Linked DNA regions of Homo sapiens: region 1 is linked to region 2. Evidence: promoter capture Hi-C in human tissues and cell types (Jung and others, 2019). All regions are on one chromosome and are shown on one strand. Each heading gives the region's core, a stretch centred on a gene start or on the middle of the fragment in contact. The rest is flanking DNA. Distances are from core to core; before and after follow the strand shown. Region 1 has its middle 36 kb from the start of ZNF138. Region 2 holds the start of ZNF138 (zinc finger protein 138).

Region 1 (6,664 bases), core at 3,176-5,675, 35 kb before region 2:
TGAGCTCAGCCTAAATTTCTAACCAGCTCAATAATGAGCTAGTAAGCTTTGGGATAGTTTGTTATGCAGTTATGTCTTACTAAAAAATACATTTATTATAGGCAGGATGTAAGGATTTCAGTAAAGTTTAATTACAAATAACCTCCAGATGTTTGGCACCCTATAAGTATTAATTTTCTTTTTCCTTCATTTAAAGTTAGATTTCACTTAGATGGTACTGAGTTATACAGAAGAGCAGGTAGATGTGGATGCATGTGATTGGTGCTGAAACTCACACAGTGCCCCACATCACAGGAGAAAAACACGCAGCTACAGCTGAACAATTAGGTCCAAGGCCAAACGGCAAAATAAGAAGTTGGCCTTTGTATTAGTCCATTTTCACACTGCTGTAAAGAACTACCTGAAACTGGGTAGTTTAAGAGAAGAGGTTTAATTGACTCACAGTTTTACATGGCTAAGGGGGGCTCTGGAATCTTACAATCATGGCAGAAAGCAAAAGGAAAACAAGGCCCGTCTTCACAAGGTGGCAGGAAAGAAAGAGAGAGGAAGAAACACATTTATTAAACAACCAGATCTCATAAGAACTCTATCACAAAACAGCAAGGGGAAGTCTGCCCCTTATGACTCAATCACTTCGCACCAGGTTTCTCCCCTGACATGTAGGGATTACAATTCAAGATGAGATTTGAGTGGGGACACAGAACAAAACCATATCAGCCTTTAGTCTATTTTCTCCACATCTAAACTTTGGAGGTCAACACTATAAAGAGTCCTGAAGACATGGGGTTCCCTGTTGCTGGGGCCCTATCATCCATTGTTTACTGTCTGATGTTTGGAAGGAAGAGGAATTCTCACCAAACAGAAACTGGGAGACAATGGTCTACATGTGGACACTTCCTGCTTGCAGTGGCTGCTCATTCTAGGGGCACTGTCCCTCCCATCTTTGGGCCTGAACGGAGAAGTTTATAAGGAGATGTTGCAGGCCAAAAGAGTGAGGGTTGTGATCAACTCAGTATACCACTGGAGGCTATATTAGTAAACAGCAAACTGTTCTCATAAATGCAGGATGTTAGCAGCTGACAACTGCATCTGCCACCCAGAAAGAATGCTGAGGGCAGTCACACCCCAAGCACAGTGCTTCTTGTAATTAGGCACATCTGAAGCCTGTTAGCAATAATGTGAACCTGTGATCACTCAAGCAGCTGACCAAACATTACCTCCTCCTTCCTGCTTTTTCTACCCAATAAATATGAAGGGCTGTAGAAGCTCAAGGTGGCTGTCTTCACTCACCAGACGCAGGGCGTCCTCTTCTTCTTCCCCTGGCCCCTTCCTTTAAAATAGTTTCTTTTGTTTTAGGTTTTCATTTCTCATTTGTCCTCCTTCATTCAGTCCTGTGGTAACCATGGCAAGCTGCAGCAGGGAGAGGCTGTTCCCTCATTTCCAGCAGAAAGCGGGTATTTAGGCCCTTCAGCTCCCTGAGATCAGAGAGTCAGATCCCTCAGAGCTGCTCTTTGATGTGGCAGCTACTTGACATTTGAGGCTACTAAGAACCTGGAATGTGGCAGATTTAAAATGAGATGTGCTGCAAATATAAAATACAGAGTGAGTTAAGAAGGTTTAGAACCAAAAATTACTTTATTAATAATTACATATTGATCACGTATTAAAATAAAAATATTTTGGATATACTGGGTTAATTACAAAAAATTTCACTTGTTTCTTTTTATTATATTTAATGTGGCTACTAAAAAACTTAAAATTCAAGATGGGCACAGTGGCTCAGGCCTGTAATCCCAGCACTTTGGGAGGCCGAGGGGAGTGGATCACAAGGTCAGAAGTTGGAGACCAGCCTAGCCAACATAGTGAAACCCCGTCTCTACTGAAAATACAAAAAATTAGCCAGGTGTGGTGGCAGGCACCTGCAATCCCAGCTACTTGGGAGGCTAAGGCAGGAGAATTGCTTGAACCTGGGAGGTGGAGGTTGCAGTGAACCGAGATCATGACATTGCATTCCAGCCTGGTGACAGTTGGAGACTCTGGCTCAAAAAAAAAAAAAAAAAAATTCACACATGGCTAACATTTTATTTCTTAGAGGATTGCTCTCCTGTTAAAATCTCAGCTTGCCTACTCAAAATGTGTCCAGAATTTATTCCTTCTGGCGGGTTCTTGGTCTCGCTGACTTCAAGAATGAAGCCACGGACCTTCACAACAAGTGTTACAGCTCTTAAAGATTGTGTGTCTGGAGTTTCTTCCTTCGGGTCTTCAGATATGTCCGGAGTTTCTTCCTTCTGGTGGGTTCTTGGTCTCACTGACTTCAACAATGAAGCTGCGGACTTTCATGGTGAGTATTACAGCTCTTAAAGGTGGTGCAGACCCAAAGAGTGAGCAGCAGTAAGATTTATTGTAAAGAGCAAAAGAACAAAGCTTCCACCCTGTGGAAGGGGACGGCAGCAGGTTGCCACTGCTGGCTCTGGTGGCCAGCTTTTATTCCCTTATTTGGCCCCATCCATATCCTGCTGATTGGTCCGTTTTACAGAGTGCTGATTGGTCCATTTTACGGAGTGCTGATTGGTCCATTTTACAGAGTGCTGATTGGTGTGTTTTTACAGCATGCTGATTGGTGCGTTTACAATCCTTTAGCTAGACACAAAAGTTCTCCAAGTCCCCACCTGACTCAGAAGCTTAGCTGGCTTCACCTCTCAATCCCCACTCTAAACAGGACACCCCAACTGCTGTTGGGAATTGAGTGATGGCCACTCTAGCTACCTCCTGTGGGATAGGGCTGAAGAAGGGGCCCTGCAGTTGTAGGGTCCTCCAGAGGGGAACTCTTTAGGCCAGTGAAAAGGTCAGAAGGTCTGTCCAGGGGTCCTCAGTAGAAGTTGTTAGTTGAGCTCATTTGGGGTTCCATTTTTAAGACCATCTGTAGCTTGATGGCCTCGATTCTAGAGGAAACAAATTTGACAAGGAGGTTAAAAATACAGGGCCTGAAGGCGAGTAATAACAAGATGACTGTCACGGGAACTTGAAAGGAGAAAAATCATGTCTCCCAACTCCAGAAGTTGGTATAAGAGGGTGAAAGGCATTGTCTGATTTCAGAAGCCTTTTCCTGTAAATGCCAGGCAGCATCTCATACTATCCCTGACTGGTTAGTGTAAAAGCAACACTTTTCTCCTGAGAAGGTGCGGAGTCCTCCTTTCTCATCAGTTAGGAGGTCTAGGCCTCAGCAGTTTTGGAGAGTCACTGCTGCCAAAGAGTCTATTTGGGATTGTACAGTAAGGATAGATTTCGTTATTTCTTGCAAATTGTCTGAGAAATCCTTTGAGACTGTGTGGTAGTAGGAGAATAAAGTAGATAAACTGGCTATTCCGGTTCCTGTAGCCATAGCCATTCCTAACCCTGTAAGTAGGGGTATTAGTTGTATGGCTCTGTGCTGCTGGACTTGAGCTTTGAGGGTTACTGATAGGATCTGATTTCCTGGGGCAATGTTAATGTTGGGACTTAGAAAGACTAAGGTGCAGGTGCCTGTCCAGATAGTGGGGAGGCAGATTTATAGGTTGACGTTCCACATAAGAATATACCTTGCCTGGGTAGACAGAACTAGTTGTGTATGTTAAAAAGGTGTGTGAGTTTGTTGTTTTTGTTTTCCCATACTCCTAGAGTACTTGCCAAGGTAGCTCTGGTGAGCAGCTGGAAAGGGGTGTTGGGAGAAAAATGAGTGGCTCCCTGTGTTCTCTTTTCCCATTGGAGAAAAAACCGTTCTGTATCTACTAGGAACCATTGGAGAGAGTGATTGAAAGAGGGGATGAAAAGGCATTCACTAGTGGTGGGGGCGCTGCTGCAGGGGGTCCAGGGGTGAATGGTCATGCAGGAAGTATGTTTGCCATTACAAAACCTGGACTGTTTGTTAAGCAGGGAGGAGGTGATGATTTTTGGAGACCCTGAGAGACAGACATGCTGTCTGAATGGAGCTGTTTGGGTGACTCAGAAGTTACTATGATCAGTTGGGGCTTGAAGTTGTAGGGTGTAATTACACTGATGGAGTAGTAGGTGCCCCGGGGGAAGGCCTGATAACAGATTGCGTTGGATGCATAAAGGGGTTTGGAAAGTTAAGGTGGTATTCGTAGTTACATGGCCATGTATGGGCTTTTCATTGCTTGTGTAATAGGTGAGGTTGGAAATGTAAGAATGTTAAAGTTGGTTGCACGTCCTGTTAGGGTATTCTTGGTCCTATCAGAGATGGGGAAGTTGGCTAATGATTGCATATCTAGATGTCAGAAAGGGTCTTTTCCTTCATAATGAGGATGGTAAGTTAAGTTGGTAAAGACCCAGTTTTTTGCGGGAATGGGAGTGGCAACGCAAGCAGAGTTTGATAGAGAGATGCAAAGCCAACAGTCATTTGCCAGGGAAGGATTGGACTGGTTTAACAGACAGTGGGTTAAGTTGAGAGTCTTGTATAGGTAATTAGGAGCTAGTGGAAGGGGAGGGGTGATTGTATGAGGTATCCAAGGAAGCAGGAGGGATAGATAGGCAAAGAGTATGGTTAGTATGCTGCTTAATAATATGATGAAATAGTAAAAGGATTCCATTAAAGGGGCAAGGAGAGGTGTTAACTTTTAGCAAATTTTACTTTTGTTGAAAACCTTGTAAGCTTGGGATTTCAATTACTCTTTGCTATTAATAAGACTTCGCTCAGTCCATATTAACTTAGAATTGATATAGATGGCTCCTTCCTGATTCCGTAAGTACTTTAAGGTTTGGCTGAGCACAAACAGCTCACACGTTTAAGCAGACCAATTTTTAGGCAATTTTCCTAACTCTGCCTCTACAAGAGTTTCCTTATCACTTATTGAATACCCATTGTGTCTTTTTCCCTTAAGCGCCCAGGAAGAACCACCTGTCTTTCTGTCCTGAAGGGAGTTCCTCCTATATCTGGTAGGACCTTTGTATGGTAATTAGTTAAGGTTTAGATCCCCTGTTAGGAAACCTGCTGGGTTAAGGATTTTTGATAGGAAGGCTATGGGTTGTCAGTGGCCTCAGTGCTTTTGGGCTGTGCCCTTGATTACACTGACAAGGTGGTATTGGATTGTTATAGGGTTACAGAGAAGGCCTTCAATGATCAATTATATTTACCCTGACTTTTAAAGGAAAAGGGTACACTGTTTTTTCTCCACTACTTCCATCTCTCTTTCTTTCTCTTTGACTTTCTGTCTTTTCTCTCTCTGACTCCCCTTTGTCTGTCTCTTCCTCTCTCTGACTTTCTGTCTCTCTCTTTGATTCCTTTGTCTCTTCCTCTCTCCTTCTCTGACTTTCTGTCTCTCTGACTCTTTGTCTCTGTCTCTTCCTCTCTTTTTGACTGTCTCTTTCTGTGTCTCTCTTTGTCTCTGTCTCTTCCTGTCTTTCTCTGTCTTTCCTCTCTGCTGATCTTTCCCTGACTCTGCCAGCCACTTATGCTGCTGTTCTCCCCTCTCCTTCCCCTTTTGATGGCTTCGGCAGTGTAAGAGTGCCACTTCCTTGGGTTTTTGCCTGCATGCAATAACTCCATGGTTTCCTTGTGATATTTAATGGGGGTTCCCCCAGAGGTTAGGCACTCCCTTTCTTTCCATATTGCAGTATGGGCTTGTAGGATTAGATAAGCATACTTACTATGTGTAGCAAAGTCTCCCAGTTACAACTGAGGAGGTGGGAGAAATATCTGGTTACAGGCTGTCCCAGGATTCCTCGGATGGTAGTTGACCTTGAAGACAGCTGTCCGGGACAGGAGATTAACACTGAGAGAGCCACACCAGTGTCCAGGAGGAAGTCAATTTCCTGACCCTCAATGGTTAAATGTACCCGGGGCTCAGTGAAGGTGATGATGTGAGGTGGCATTTGCCCTGGGCACCCTCAGTCCTGTTGTTGGATCATCTGGTTGGGGGCTTCTGGCCCAGAGAACCTTTGTCCTCTGGGGCAGTGCGCCTTTCAGTGATTGCCTCAGCATAGTGGAGATGGGCGAGGGGGTAGCTTGTTTCTCGTTGGACAATCTTTTTTAAAGTAGCCTTACAAATGACATTGATAACAAGCCCTACCAGGTGATTGGCCTGCTCCATTTTCTGTCCTCTCCGAACCACCAAAGTTTATTTGTCTGAGGGCCTTGACTATCCTGACCCTTGTAAAAAGGCATGTTGGATTTTGGTTTTTAAAATTCTTTTTTTTTTTTTTTTTTTTTTTTGAGATGGAGTCTTGCTGTGTCGCCCAGGCTGGAGTGCAGTGGCGAAATCTCGGCTCACTGTAAGCTCCGCCTCCCAGGTTCATGCCATTCTCCTGCCTCAGCCTCCCGAGTAGCTGGGTAGCTGGGACTACAGGCGCCTGCCACCATGCCTGGCTAATTTTTTTGTATTTTTAGTAGAGATGGGGTTCTAATCATATATTTTATTTGTTAAAAGTTGTTATTTACTTTTTTCCTTACAAAAGTGAGTGTAGTTGTTTCTCTGGTCTGCCACTTTTTGGGGGTAATTTCAAACAGAATCTCAGGGCTTAGCTTTGAGAATGCTACCAGGGAAAAATAGGAAATATCTCTCCTTTTATGGCTATAGAAAATGAATACATTTCCACAAGACGTGTAGTAAATCAACTGGTGCATTACATAGATGCATCAAAACAATAGTTCCTTTTTTTTTTGAGGGTG
Region 2 (6,453 bases), core at 2,773-5,272:
CTCAAAACAAACAAACAAAAAAACAAAATAATGGCACTCAGAGCAACCTGGATAAAGTTGGAGATCATTATTCTAAGTAAAGTAACCCAGAAATGGAAAACCAAGCATGGCATGTTGTCACTTTTTAGTGAGAGCTAAACTATGAGGATATAAAGGCATAAGAATTATGTCACATAATGGACTCTAGAAACTTGGGGGAAAGGGCGGTGTGGGGTTGAGGGATAAAAGACTACACATTGGGTACAGCGTATACTGCTCTGTAGATGGGTGCACCAAAATCTCACACACCACTGCTAAAGAACTTATTCATGTAACCAAACACCACCTGTACCCCCAAAACTATTGAAATAGTAATGATAAAAACAAGAAACACAGAAAACTCCATAAGTTTAAGTTTATATGCTTTGGCATTTTATTTTTTTTAGAAAGGGTCTCCCTCTGTCACCCAGAATGAAGTACAGTGGCTTGATCACGGCTCACTGCAGCCTCGACCTTTTGGGCTCAGGCAATTCGCCTTCCTCAGCCTCCTAAATAGCTGGTACTACAAGTGCGGGCCACCATACCCAGCTAATGTTTGTATTATTTGTAAACATAGGGTTTTGCCATGTTGCCCAGGCTGGACTTGTATTCCTAGGCTTAAACAGTCTTTGTTTCTTGGCTTTTTAAAGTGCTGGGATTAGGTTGGGCACAGTGGCTCGTGCTTGTAATCCCAGCATTTTGGGAGGATGAGACGGTTGGATCACTTGAGGTCAGGCATTTGAAACCAGCCTGGCCAACATGGTGAAACCCCGTCTCTACTAATTATCTAATTCTCTAGAGAATTTTGCAGCCAACTTTATATATGAACAAACTTATGCCTTGATAGGTACAAGATGAAGGGTCAATGTGGGTGAGAAATTCTAATGGGACATTTGTTGCCTCATAATATCAGAAACACAGAATATAGGTCCACTGCTCTTAACCTACTTCAGAAGTTAAAAAGAACTCATTCACAATAAGTTTCAGAGCATTGCCTGGCCATTACTCTTCTAAATAAGCATCATTTGTTAGGTCTTTTTTTTTTTTTTTTTTTCATGGTTCAGGGTAAAAAAATCAGGCATTGGTTAGACATTTATCCTTCATAATAGTCTCTATAGCAGATTCTACTGCAAAGGCTATGGTTACACAATAGACTTTTTTTACTAAAGTTGTGCTAAATAATGGAATTTCTTGAGATTACTTATTGCATAAACAGAAAAGTATCTGTGTAGTTGCTAATATGCATAGTTGCACATGGAGAAATATATTATAGAGATTATACAGAAATATATTACACGTATTACAGAGATTCAGTTACGGGGGTTTAAGAAACAGGCTGCTTGGTTGAAATGAGGAGACCATTTATTTAGCTGATAACTTGGTCTATCTCTCAAAATTGAGAAGATAACCAAAAAGGAGAAATTGTTAAATTATAGCCTGAAGCTCTCTGTTTTCATGTTTAATTTTGGTCAGTAGGTTTTTTGTTTGTTTGTTTTTCTTTTTTTTTTTTTTTTGGTACATACTAAACTGAAACCTAACTGGATATGTAAGTAGATTATAACCCATTCCTGTACCAGCCACTGTGATTTTGCCAATAAAAGGACATCAACTCTTCAAACCATGTTCAAATAAGGCAAATCCCAAGCTGTAATCAATTTGGCTGTTTCTGTACCTCAATTTCATTTTCTGTATGCCACTTTGCTTTTTCTGTTGATCAATTTTTTTACCATGTTGCTGTGCTGGAGTCTCTCTGAGCCTATTCTGGGCCCACAGGCTGCCTGATTTGCAAATCATTCTTTGTTCATTTAGACTCTGTTACATTCAATTTCTCTGAAGGTTTTGTTTTTTTTTTTAGATGTTTACAGATTTTATCTATGATAAAAAATAAGTAATGTGTTGCTGGGCTTTGATTTTCTCAACTCATCCCTCATCTATCTTTTTCCACATATGCTATGTCCTTTTGAAATGCTCCTGCAACTTTTTTCTTTTCTGTTTCTTTTCTTTTCTTTTTTTTTTTTTGGAGAAAGGATCACACTCTCACCACCCAGGCTGAAGTGCAGTGTCGTAACCAATCATGGCTCACTGCAGCCTCGACCTTCCAGGCTCAAGTAATCCTCTTGCCTCTGCCACCTGAGTAGCTGGGACTACAGGATTGCCTCATGCTGGCTAATTTTTATTTTTATTTATTTTTATTTTTTATTTTTTTTGAGACGGAGTCTCGCTCTGTCACCCAGGCTGGAGTGCAGTGGTGGGATCTTGGCTCACTGCAAGCCCCATCTCGTGGGTTCATGCCATTCTCCTGCCTCAGCCTCCCGAGCAGCTGGGACTGTATTTTTAGTAGAGACGGGGTTTCACCGTGTTAGCCAGGATGGTCTCGATCTCCTGACCTCGTGATCTGCCCTCCTCGGCCTCCCAAAGTGCTGGGATTACAGGCATGAGCCACCGCGCCCGGCCATGACTGGCTAATTAAAAAAAAAAAAATTTTCATGCACATAGGATCTTAACTATGTTATTCAGGCTGCACTTGAACTCCTGAGCGCAAGTGATTCTCCCATCTCAGCTTGCCAAAGTGCTAGGATTATAGATGTGAGCTACCGTGTGCTTCTTCAATTTCTTAAGATTATTTCTAGCAATAATAATAAACAGTGCTATATGGGCACAAATCTAAAAGAAATCTGGCTTCTATTTTAGAAGTGTCACTCTCCAGGATTTCAAGGGTCAAATGGAGTTAATTCTGAGTCCCAGCCCAGCCACTTAATAGCTGTGGGTCTTTGCACAAATTTTTTTTTTTTTGATGTGGAAGAGTTATATAAACCACATATGCAAAAAAAGGCAGAATGATACTGATTGCAAAAATGTTAGCAATTTTTCATCCCTCCGCTATCCATGCCCATTGCCAGGTGCATTTACAGCTGTTTCCATTGAGATCCAGTTCTGTTTTCCAAACCCTAGATCTGGCTGGCCTTATTTGCTCAGGGCAGTAAAAACCTGTGAACAGTGCAGTGTGCTAGTTTGAGGCGTAGGCTCAAATGGTTTTGCATGCTTCTGTTTTTCTTTCAGAAGGCTACTATCTCCGCGAAAAAAGCCCATGTTAGCCAGATGGAAGATAAAATAGTATGGGGAGGAGAAGCAAGTTGCCTCTGTTGACAGCCTCAGAAGCAGAAGCTCACCCCCAGAAGCACAGCTGCCTAGTCAACAAGCAGCTGATGATACATGTCTGAAGGAACTCAGCTGAGGTCACAAGAATGGTCTCACTGAGCCCAGCCTAAATGACTAACCATCTCAATTAGAGTGAATTCCACCTGTTTATTCTTAAAGTTTGACTACTAGAAAATTTGGAATTCACATGTGCTCTGTAATCCCAGCACTTTGGGAGGCCGAGGCAGGTGGATCACCTGAGGTCAGGAGTTCGAGATCAGCCTGACCAACATGGCAAAATTCTGTCTCTATTAAATATACAAAAAGTAGCCGGGCGTGGAGGCGGGTGCCTGTAATCCCAATTACTCAGGAGGCTAAGGCAGGAGAATCACTTGAGCCCGAGATGCGGAGTTTGGGGTGAGCCGAAATCGTGCCACTGTGCTTGAGCCTGGGTGAGAGTGAGACTCTGTCTCAAAAAAAAAAAAGAAAAAAATCTCAGGCTGCCTGCTCAAAGGACCAGAAGCCAGTACGGTTATAAAATCTGGAATTTAAAAATAATTGTTATATTCAGATGTGAATAGCTATATGTTATTTATAAATGCATACGACCTTATACACAAGGTTAAATGCAAATGCCCTCTGGGGTGGGCCTGACTCAGCTCAGGGAGGAAGCCCTTCTGGAAAAGGCTGCTGCTTAGGTTTAACTCTGTCTTCCTTCAGCCCAGCACCTGAGCACATCTGTCACTCAGGGCCTGAGGGGGCGGGTTGTTAAACGTTATCCAATCAGGGACGCCGGGCTGGGAACGGTCCAATCAGGCACCCAGCTGGAGCGGACATGACGTCTTCCGGGAGGCGGCGGGGTCTTTGTCTCGCTGCAGCGGGTGCTGCAGGTCTGGCCTTCACTTTTCTGCGTCCTCTTACTCCTAGAGGCCCAGCCTCTGTGGCGCTGTGATCTGGTTATTGGGAGATTCACAGCTAAGACGCCAGGATCCCCCGGAAGCCTAGAAATGGTGAGAGTGCTGGGTCCGACATCCCGAGAGAGGGGGAGGGAGCTGGTTGGAACCGGTCGGAAGTGGCTGTGGCAGTACTCGGGTCTTCCCGCAGTCGGCTGCAAAATCCGCGGCCCCGAGTTCTTGGCACAGCTCGGCCCTCAGTCCCCTTAAGCCATAGCATGGCAGCTGGGCTGACAGCCGGAACCAGGCGTCCTGTCTCCTCCCTGCGCAGTGACTGTGCCCTGGCCTGGAGCCCTCTCTGAGCAGCTCTGCACCCGCAGCGATTGTGCAGAGACGACGGGAGGGTCGTCAGGGGAGAATCCTGACTCGGGGTGCTGGGTTCATGAATGGGAAGAGGTTTCCTCCGCGGGCTTCCCTGTCCCTCTTTTCCCCTATTAAAATTTATGAAAGTCACCGCAAAAAAATTAATTTAATCAAACAGTGATTCAAGAATTGTGGAGCACCCAGCTGTGGTTTGCAGTAGTGGTCCGTGGGAGGGGTTTGAAGGAAACACTTGTATAAGGTGTATGATAAAACCAAATTCAGTAATTGGTTAGTAGAGTTATGTAGTTTCTTAATTTGTACAATGAAGGAGGAAATTTCCTGGTCATGTAATCAGAGGTTAATTGGCAGTTTACAGTTGGTTAAACATGAATTTTATTTTTCACAAGGTAGTAATTTACAAAAAAATGCATTTGAGTTAGATTTTTTTAAAACCAGAAACCCTGGGACTGGAGCGACCTCAGTCTAATTGCCTGCCACTTAATTATTTTCACACTCCACAGGGGACAGATCTTCCCCTTCATTTTTCACATGTGTCCCAAGCAGGGTCTCAAGACTCCTCCCCCTCCCCATTTCCCATTCCTTCAGCCTAACTCTGGCTTGCAGTAAAATACTAAATTTCCAGTTCCTTCTGACATTCCCAAATGCCAACTTCCCCTTCCTAATTCACATTATCAACTATTTGTCCTTTAGTGTACATTTGAAATACTGTATTTTAATTAATCATTTTTTGACAAAGCATGGATGGCATTTTAAAAAAGATTTGTTATCTGTTTGTAAATATTTCCCATGAGAAGAAACCAAAGACTCATCCCCTGATGCTGTATTGTAAAAAATCTCTGTGCCTTTTTTTTTTTTTTTAAATCTTCCCTAGGTACAGAGATCTTATCAGAATATTTTTGGGTCAAGGTTTCCCTTTGGAAACTTTATAAGGTAATGTGTCCTTAGTCACTCTTCAGTTTTTTCCTTGGTCCTGGGTTTCAGTACTTTCTGAGGATAAATCAAAATATCCACTGTGGCTGTGTATGCTAGAATCTCTGGTAAATTTCAGCTCCTGGCCTGGAATGAACTCTGGTTATCTGGGAATGGGAGACAGAGGACAACCTGAGGTTGGAGTGTAGCCTCTCAAGGGAGCAGGTGAATGCCCTGGGGCTGAGAGGAATCTCCTGGTGTACTCTTCCTTTGAAAAGCAAACCCTTTGAGAAGTTAAGATTGTCTTCAAACCAACCCAGTGTCCATTTCCGGAGACATATTGCTGGTCAATCAATCATATGCTGGTATTGAGGGGAGAACACAGAAATAATTTCGGCCCACTGGATTCTCTAAGATTTGTGAAAGAAATGATAGTATCCAAAAAGACAAATCAAACCTTACCCCAGTGAGATGGTTCAAGAACTTGCAAAGTGAAATGTACTTGGGGCAGTCACTGAGGCATAGTGCAGCGTCTTCAGAGAGGGTGGTCTTCAGAGAGGGTGGTCGTTTAGCACTTAAGTGAGCAGGATGGGGTGGGAGAATCTCTCAAGTGATTGGGTGGCTTGACTTGACATGTGAGTGAGATACATCTGTTTTTTAATCAGCACTGCCACTCCCTGGGATTGTCACCCTGAAAAGATTTGTTCACTTACTTCAGTGTTTTAATTGTAACTTGCAGTTTATTAGTAGGACTAAAAGGTAAGAGGATAATTAGAATGGGCATGAAAGAGATGGGTTTTGGAAAAAAATATCTAATCATATATTCTATTTGTTAAGTATTCTCATTTACCTTTTTCTTTCCCAGACTGAGTTTAGGAATTTTCTCAGGTCTGTTTTTTTATGGCTGGGTGATGTCCAAGAGTATTCCAAGGCTTAGCTTTTAGAATGCTACCAAGGAAAAGAATAGGGAAAATACTTCTTCCATTTTGGCTGTGGAAAACGAATACATTTCCGGCGGGGTGCGGTGGCTCATGCCTGAAATCCCAGCACTGTGGGAGGCCAAGGCAGGGAGATCACCTGAGGTCAGGAGTTCTAGACCAGCCTGGCCAAC

The links. Contacts are between HindIII fragments. The study calls those that stand out against the background at their distance.
Region 1: a contact is called between a fragment that was not itself captured here and the fragment with the promoter of ZNF138 in region 2, in 1 of the 25 tissues and cell types used here (H1 embryonic stem cells).

What each region holds. Positions count from the first base shown.
Region 1 is chr7:64,754,956-64,761,619 of GRCh38, forward strand. No RefSeq gene overlaps it. Among named protein-coding and RNA genes, the nearest start is that of ZNF138, 36 kb to the right of the region's middle. The HindIII fragment of the contact is 6,380 bases long and covers 1,236-6,664 here.
Region 2 is chr7:64,790,406-64,796,858 of GRCh38, forward strand. ZNF138 (zinc finger protein 138) reads left to right here and starts at 4,023. Exons shown (of 4, transcript NM_001271639.2): 1 at 4,023-4,166. The coding sequence starts at 4,164. RefSeq lists enhancers at 3,749-3,798, 4,039-4,278, 4,063-4,623. The HindIII fragment of the contact is 15,546 bases long and covers 1-6,453 here.